2 separate regions of the Homo sapiens genome follow, and region 2 is linked to region 1. The links are contacts of gene promoters, found by promoter capture Hi-C in blood cells and fetal thymus (Javierre and others, 2016). All regions are on one chromosome and are shown on one strand. The core of a region is centred on a gene start or on the middle of the fragment in contact, and the rest is flanking DNA. Distances in the headings are between cores, read along the strand shown.

What was found. Contacts are between HindIII fragments. The CHiCAGO score rates a contact against its expected background, and 5 or more counts as called.
Region 2: the fragment with the promoter of SCO1 here is called in contact with the fragment with the promoter of PIRT in region 1 in 6 of 17 cell types (naive CD4 T cells, non-activated CD4 T cells, total CD4 T cells and 3 more); the score reaches 10.3 in naive CD4 T cells.

The regions. Positions count from the first base shown.
Region 1 is chr17:10,835,436-10,839,781 of GRCh38, forward strand. It overlaps PIRT (phosphoinositide interacting regulator of transient receptor potential channels), which reads right to left and starts at 2,652. Exons shown (of 2, transcript NM_001101387.2): 1 at 2,510-2,652. RefSeq lists an enhancer at 1,463-1,964 and a silencer at 3,661-3,885. The HindIII fragment of the contact is 9,359 bases long and covers 1-4,346 here.
Region 2 is chr17:10,696,024-10,700,296 of GRCh38, forward strand. It overlaps SCO1 (synthesis of cytochrome C oxidase 1), which reads right to left and starts at 1,510. Exons shown (of 6, transcript NM_004589.4): 1 at 1,212-1,510. The coding sequence starts at 1,484. It overlaps ADPRM (ADP-ribose/CDP-alcohol diphosphatase, manganese dependent), which reads left to right and starts at 1,571. Exons shown (of 4, transcript NM_020233.5): 1 at 1,571-1,644. RefSeq lists enhancers at 487-1,310, 1,311-2,135, 1,429-1,723, 1,439-1,488 and a silencer at 1,609-1,938. The HindIII fragment of the contact is 16,251 bases long and covers 1-4,273 here.

The sequences.
Region 1 (4,346 bases), core at 1,402-3,901:
ACTCACAGATGAGGAGAGCATCTGGATTGGAATGTGAGTTTTGCAGCCAGCCTGGCCCAGACTCTGTGTTCAAGTCTATTCCGCCCCTCCTTGGGGCGGTTTTAACGTTTATTTTCAAATTATGGGAAAAGCAAGTGGGGAGGATGCCCAAAGTGGGACATAGTGAACAGAACTGCAGCCTTGGCTGAGGAGATAGGCCTAGGACTGTTGGTTAGAGCTGCCAAGGACGCCGGGGTCCCCGAGCTGGGGCCAGCAAGCAGCAAGAGGCCAGCAAGGGGCCTGTGGCACAGTGGCCTTAAAGTCACCACTGTCACCATGCCACAAATCCAACGTAAGATGCCTGGCATGTGCCACTTTCTTCGCCTGGGGAGTCTCTTTTAATCCTCTGCTTTAGGAGGGTAATACTATTATCATTCCCATTTTGCAGCTAGGAGCACAGGCTCAGAGCTGCCAGCCTCCAAATCCTGATTTTTTTTTTTTTTTTTGAGATGGAGTTTCGCTCTTTTGCCCAGGCTAGAGTGAAGTGGTGTGATCTTAGCTCACTGCAACCTCCACCTCCCAGGTTCAAGCTATTCTCCTGCCTCAGCCTCCTGAGTAGCTGGGATTACAGGTGCATGCCACCACGCCTGCCTAATTTTTGAATTTTTAGTAGAGACGGGATTTTGCCATGTTGGCCAGGCTGGCCTCGAACTCCTGACCTCAGGTGATCCACCTCCCTCAGCTTCCCAAAGTGCTAGGATTACAGGCGTGAGCTACTGCACCCGGCCAATCCTGCTCTTTTATTTATGCTTTCTCAAGGAGAGGGCCCTGCCTTTTTTTCTTCTTGTTTTCTTCACCGCCTTCCTTGCATTCTACCACCCTACACCTGTACATCTCCACCTCTGAACTCACTCCCCAGCCTTTTCCTGGTGCTGTCCTCCTTCGAACGTGCTGAAATACAGTTGGTATTAAGAGGGTTGTCAGATTTAGAGAATAAAACTACAAGGTGTCCAGTTACAGTTCAGCCTCAGATCAACAACGGATAGTTTTTTTCATGTAAGAATGTTCCAGTATTGCATGGGACCAACGCATGCAAAAAATGTATTTGTTGTTTGACAAATTCAAATTGAACTGGGCATCTCGCAATACATCTGGCACCCCTAATATTGTAAGAGATCCCGCTGTGCTGCTGTGCTTGGGCCTGGAGTTATCTGGCCCTTCCTGAGCTTCTGCCCCTCAGGCCCCACCATCTAGAGAGCTCTGATAGCACCTGGGCTGTTCTGGAAGTTGCAAGAGCTGAAAGCAGAGGAGAGAGGCACACATTACCTCACTGCTGGGAGGCTGGGCCCAGCGAGGGGAGTCTGGGGGAGAAGCGGGGAAGGCAGGATGGAAGTGGTGGGAATAACACCATGTATTATTCCTGTGGAAGACCCAGAGTGGTAAGAAGTGGAGGGTCCTCCTGTTTCCCTCACGGAGTCCCCATTAAGGCCCCACCCAGCTCCAGCTTGCCAGTGGTCATCCCCACGGTCCCTTATCTTCTCTGGCGGTGCTGTCTTCCCCTCACCAGGACATTCAGTTGGTGACTGTCCACCCCTCTGATAAGGTGAGTGGGGGCCAAGTGTCTGGGCTAATAGAAGCTAGAGGGTTTCTGAGTAAGCCGCTGCTGTCACCATGGCCATGGCCACCCATCTGTCACCTGCTCATAGCGCTTCTAGGAAGGGAAGTTTCCCAAAGGTCACAGTCAACCTAGAGGGTGCCACCCACCTCCCTTGTTGGGCCACCCGGCTGGTGCCCAGACCCTGGCCAGTGACAGGGTAGAAAAATAGCTCGGGCGATTGCGTGTGTGACCACGGCTGGCTTTACCCGGATGCAGGGTTCTCACGGCACACAGTTGCCTGACTGAGCCACGTCTTTGTCCGTGTTTGCATGTGCCTGCCTTGTTCCCCCTGTCTGAGATAAAACTCCCGAGGCAGCCAACGCACTCCACCTTGTTTTTCTGGCACCTGCCCCAGACACCTGCCACAGCTGCAGGAGGAAGACATTGGCAGCTGCAGAGGTCTGACACAGGGTGCTCAGGAGGACGGCTGGGGTCCGAGATTCCACCCATGTACTCTGGGGTCTGGGGGTGGCCTTGCACTTTCCTGTCTGGCTTTTTTGCTTCTTCCACTTAGATTTGGGAGGAGAGTCCCTGCCCAGCCCTTCCCACAATGGCTGCTAAGAGTGAAGGCTGGATGCTATAGACGCAGGACTGAAGCAGCTCTCTGCCCACAAATTCCCTTCTTCCCAGTACACAGCAAGGGGCGGCCCCCCTTCCTCTGGCCACCACTGTCTGCCAAGACCCTCAGCAGGCAGTGCCTCCAGGCTGACTTCACCCCCTCCCAGGGCATAGCCCCCTTTTCTCCGCTTGTTGTTCATGCTTGCCTTCCAACCCCAGTTTAAAGACAACACGCTCCAAAGCAAAGTTAAAATCTGCTCCTTCCTTCAGCGAGATGGAAGGAAGGGCAGAAGGAAACATTCCCTCCTTACTTACTGTCCTCGATGTCCCAGGGGAGGATGGGGGACCTGGGAATCACTTGGTGCTCGTGCAAGGAGGAAGCCGGCAATGAGTTTCTGCTCAAGTCCATGCCAGCCAGAGAAAGCCACCCTGACCACGTCCAGAAGTCAGTGTGTTGTGAATCCCAGCAACTGAGCAGGCTCCAGCAGGGATGGATGAGCTCACCAGGCAATGGCCTAATGGGTTAACTCTTTGTGAGCTGCTGGCATGGGTCCTCGGACTGTGGCTTTCTCAGCTCTGCTCAGCCACAATTAGATGAATCTTGTGAAAAATTCATGATGCTTCTCTGCAGTCTGTCTTCAAGTTTCATGGAGGCGTGCGTTCCGTTGGTGCCTGGGCAGGGCAGCTTCTCCTGACCCAGGCTCAGAAATCAGAGGACCTGGAGTTTCTGGGTTGGTGGAGGTGTGTAGTGGCCATGGTGGTGGGGATGAGTTGCCAAAGAGTGGATCAGACCCTCCGGCTGACTCAGGCTACACTGGCTCTGTTCAGTGCAGGCCTTAATAATTTGATCTGGGAACTCTCTGTGTTCTGGATGTTGGAGGGGGCACATGCAGACTTAGAAAACATCCTTGGTTGCAAGATGGCAGGGACACTTCTTGGAACTTTCCAATGCACGGGTGGGCACCCTATGTTACAAACTGCCAGGAGCCCACAACACGACTTACCTCCATCCCAGGCCTGACATCTCAAATAGAGGCAAAAGAGCTTGTTCCCCATCGCTCTTCCAATCATTCCTCATGGTGCCCTGTTGCTTTTTATGGGATGCCTGCTGCCACAATGATGAGAAGAGAATGATGCAAATCAGTGCAAGGAGGATGAAAAGGTTTTCTCCTCTATAAACCTTTACCAGACTGTGCTTCGGGAAGCTGGGTGTGAGCTGTTGAGTGGCCAGTTCTCAAGATGCTGACGGATACACTGAGGTCAGCAAAATTGCCTATGATTCTGGAAGGCATGCTGGCTCCTGCCCTGGCCCACACTAACCTGAGAACGTGGGCAGCTGTTGTTCCTCAGGATAACTGGTGGGTGGGCATCCTTGCTACTGGGAACAGTACCCTGAGGGGCTTCCTCTGTGGTCTGCCGGGAGGGCTTTCCTAGGAGCCATCCAAGGAAGCTGCTGTCAAGGCAGGTATGAGACTCTCCCATATTTGGCATCTTGAGTTCCTCATCTGTGCAATGAGCAGGAGATTCTGAGCCTAGAAGGCTCTGTAGAGGTTGCTGTGTGATCCATGCCTAGAGAAGCAGAGAGCTAGGAGGATGAGCCTGTCCCCTGAGCTGCTGTGAGGGATCAGGCTGAGTACGCCCTCTGTCCTCTGTGAAGATGAGCGTCTCTGCTCAGGGCAATGAGCAGGGAGAGGCCTGCCTTGAGTGTCCAGGGGAACTTGACTTTGAAGGTTTTTGAGGATGTGAGTTGCTTTGCCTTAGGTGCCTCTGACTTTATACTCAAATCAGTTTGTAAAACCAAGTGGCCTGGCTCGCAGAGGAACCCTAGAGTGAATTATTTTGCAATGCAAATAATCAAATGATTTATTTATTTATTTTTACAAAGTTCGGGCTATTCCCCCACCCTCTGCAGGGCACGGCAGTGTGGCAGAGTAATACCATCCTAAGTTAAACCCTTATTCATCACTCCCTCCATGTCAGGCACTCTTCTAAGCACTTTATATATATAGCAATTCACTTATTTCCCATACAACTCCATGAGGTAGCCATGTGAGGTATATTGCTATCTCTGTATTTGGCCTTGGACGAATTACTTCTCTGGGCCTTAATTTCCTCATGTATTCATTGAGTGGGATCATTACTACATCACAGA
Region 2 (4,273 bases), core at 260-2,759, 140 kb before region 1:
ATTCATCTCCAGGGGAAAGTTCCCTAAGTCAGTTCTCTTCATGTAAATAAAAAAAAAAAAAAAAAAAAAAAAAAGCTCAAGTACCACGATTGTTACTATGTGTGACCCTAGCTCCAGTAATGACTTTAAAACCAATTATGGCCGGGCGCGGTGGGTCACGCCTGTAATCCCAGCACTTTGGGAGGCGGAGGCGGGTGGATCACCTGAGGTCGGGAGTTTGAGACCAGCATGGCCAACATGGTGAAACCCCATCTCCACTGAAAATACAAAAATTAGCCGGGCGTGGTAGCGGACCCCTCTAAACCCAGCTACACGGGAGGCTGAGGCAGGAGAATCGCTTGAACCCGGGAGGCGGACGTTGCAGTGGGCCGAGATAGGGCCACTGCACTCCAGCCTGGGCAAAAGAGCAAAACTCCGTCTCAAAACAAAAACCAAAATCCAAAAACACACACACAAAAAACAATTATCTGCTTATGCTGATACTGAGATAAATAGACCAAACGAAATTTGGGAGGTTAACTTAACTCTGGCTTCCAGAAGTAACAATGCCAAAGTAGAAGAGGAATCTAAAAGTGGAGCTTCTTGCAAATTACACCCATTATTTCTTTGTACCCTTATTCAACTCCCCAAATGAAGATGATGTTGGCCAACTAGACTAGGCCTAACTCATTAACCTTCCCGTAGCTCCAAAAACCCACTTCTCTTACCACAGGGTAGTGGCTCTCAAGTTATTTCTGGGTCAGAATTAGAACTCGAGAGAACCCCAAGAAAAAGGCAGATCCACACATAACTAAGTTCCACTTTTTGTTTCAATTTCAACGTATACATGGAACTCTGGATGGGGCTCAAGTGACAAATTATAAAAGTCCTCTGACTTCTCAATCACGGTAAACTTTAGGTTCATACCCTTAAGAAAACCTGAAACTTAATTTTTTTTTTTTTTTTGATGGAAACGCTAACATAAAATCCAAGTCGGGGCATCCAGCCACGTGGAGAGGGTGTAAAGTCTCAAGTTCTCTGTGGAGAACTGGGACTACCCGCAAGGCACGGGAAATGTAGGATGAAATTCCATGACCCAGGTAAGGCGCGCAAGCTAAGGACAACTTTAGGGGAGGCGGAGTAGTGTCTGAGGTTACGACCAAGTGGGATGTGGCCGCTGGGCTGGCCGACAGCCGCGACGAGCACCAGAAGGGTTCCAGGTGTGCACTCACCCCGGGCTTCGAGGGGCGCGTGGAGTCTCCGGGGCCCTTCTGCGACCACGGGGGTGGCGGCCTCGCAGTGCTGAGGGGCCGGGTTCCCAGGCAATAGCCAGGGCGCCCCGAGGCACGCCACGCCTCCGCTTGCCGCGCGCAGAACTGCCTCAGCAAGACTCTCGCAGTCCCCTCGGCTGGGCCCCAAAACTCGAGTCCGCGAGGCAAGAAGCGCCAAAGTTGGCCACCCAGAGGCCGCATAACTCGTCCGGGTACTAGGACCAGCATCGCCATGAGCCTCGGAGACCGGGTCTCCTTTGACCCTCCCCGCGATTTCCGGTAGCGTTCCGCTTCCTCCGGAAGTCGGAAGGAGTCGCTCTGTCCGTCCCGCTCGTTGGTGGCGCTGTTACATAGCCCGTAGTCAGAGGCCTTTCAGCCCAGGGGCCGGCGCACGGTAGGTAGTTCCCTGCGGCTGGAGGCGGGTCTGGCGCGGGCTGGGCGGTGCTGCGGGGCCGCGGGACAGCGGAGCGCCGGGAAGGGGGCTGCCTTAGGGGTCCAGGTGCGCGGCTGGGCCGAGGCAAGGCGGCCCCAAGCGCTGGGGGCCCCCGCTTTGGTCGTGGGCTTCGGTGACCACAGCTAGCTCCTCGCGCCGGGGACACCCCCACCTCGGAAGAGAGAACACACTGCCTAGAGACCCACGGGACTGGGCAGCCCCCATAACCCTACCTTGTCTGGCCGACTTTGTCAACCTCGTCCTGCCGGCCAAGAGGAAGTGCCAGAATGTTGACTCCTTTACATCTTTGAAATAGAAACCGACCCATTGCGATTGAAATAGTCTTTAACTTAAAAAAAATTGCTAATTAGGATAATTTGAGTGGTTAGGGCGGTCTGGAAGAACTTTAAATGCCCAGCGCTTCTAGTTATTTAACATTATAATGTAACCTAATTAATAAAGCATAGCAGTGTGTAAAGAAATATAGACAGCATGATATCCCATCCGTTAACTTAGTCTTCCTGGGTCCCAGTTTCTTAAAATACTCTCACGGACTCCCTTGCTCCCTACAGTTTCGTTATTTGAAGTTTGTTATGGGTTCCTCATCTGGAACTGCTTATGTTCCTTGTTAATGAGGCCAAGAGCATTCGTAGGTTTTTCGTTCTTTGTGAAAGTCTAACTTCATTTCATCTGCCTTTATTTATATCTTAATATCCGCAATATTAACCACTCCCTCCCCGCCCCTACCTCGGTGGTTGCTTTACAAAATACAGAGAAATAAAAAAAGGAAAATCGTCCTCTAATTATCTTCCTTAACTACAGATCCCGCTCCTGTGTGGCTTTTTTTTCCCCCATGGGACCGACTCTGAGTAGGAGAAACTCGTGCTCTGATGATTGTTGGACCAGAGCATGGTTGGTTTGCTTGTTTTCTATGAGTTAGCCAAACTAGCCAACTGTTCTGTTCTCTAACCCAGTAACGGAACATAGTGTTACCTGTGTTTCTTGATTCGCGGTTGGACTAGAATTTTCAGAAATTTCTGCCAAAGTTCTTAAATGTTTGTTCAGCACTTCAAGTCGTTAATCAAACTATTTTTTTCTATCTTATAGTTGCCTGTGGGTAGGATTTTTGCTCTTTTATCTTTGTGTATTTGTTTGCCCAGGGATAATTTTTTCTTGTAATTGACAAAAAGACATAAAAGTACCTTGTGTAGTCAGGCAGATAGCATACAAAATTATTGTTCATCTCTGATTGCCCAATTGTAGGTTACCTGATCAGCCACCCAAATTAAGATTGAAGTCAGTGTTTCTACCTGATCTATTAAATTTTATTTGCTAAAGTGCTTCTTTTAGTAGCAACTTCTTCATATTAATTTTATAATATTAAATAAAATGCTATCATTGAAAACAGTTCTTGGGGCCAGATGTGGTGGCTCACGCCTGTAATCCCATCACTTTGGGAGGCTGAGGTGAGTGGGTCACTGGAGCCTAGGAGTTTGAAGCTGCAGTGAGCTGTGATCGGGCCACTGCCTTCCAGTCTGGGCAACAAAGCAAGACTCTGCCTCTAAAAAATAAATAAAATAAATATAAAATATAGTTCCTGGCTCAAAGTAGGTGTTTTATAACTGCATTTTGGATGAATTGCTAGTAACACCTGAGCCTGATGGCAAGGACCCATGAAACTTTAGTGCCAGAAGGCGCCTACAGTGTTATCCCTTATAGACCTTATCACTTTTATTACTGCTGTGAAACCACCAAAGTCACCAAATGAGGTTTATGTTTTGTTTTCCAAGTTAGATATTTTTCTTTTCTTTCTTTTTTTTTTTTTTTTTTTTTTGAGACAAAGTCTCCCTCTGTCGCCCAAGCTGGAGTGTGCAGTGGTGCGATCTCAGCTCACTGCAACCTCCGCCTCCTGGGTTCAAGCGATTCTCTTGCCTCATCCTCCCGTGTAGCTGGGACTAGAGGTGCGTGCCACCAGGCCTGTCTAATTTAAAAAATATATATATTTTTAGTAGAGACAGTGTTTCACCATGTTAGCTAGGACGGTCTCGATTTCCTGACATCGTGATCTGCCCGCCTCGGCCTCCCAAAGTGCTAGGATTACAGGCTTGCGCCACCACACCCGGCCCCAATTTAGATATTTTTCTTGAGAGAAGCAGGGCATGGATTAGTATCATCTGATATTGGTTCTATCAATAGTGATCAGATTTTGTTCTTGACATAACTTTAGGCTGGTTTGACTGGGGACAGCTAGGCCCTAACTTTTGTGAACTTCCCAGCACCCTAATGTGTTTACTTCATTTTTGTTCCAGGCCCCTGCCCCTTGTGCCTAACTCCTAACCACAAACATTTCCTGCCCCAACTTAACTTTCCTTTTGGTATGGTATCTGCGTAGAAAACATATGCTGCACCCTTAGGCTAGGAGCCTCTGTTACAATAGTTTCTCCTAACAAAGTCTCTCTTTATTAATCTCTAGACTTTCCCTGCTGCCCCCTTCACCTTTGACAATAGAGTGAAGAAATCATACTCTTTTCAGGGTAGAGCTACTTCTTTTACAAGTTCATTATTGATGCTTGAAGGCTTTCCACAAGGA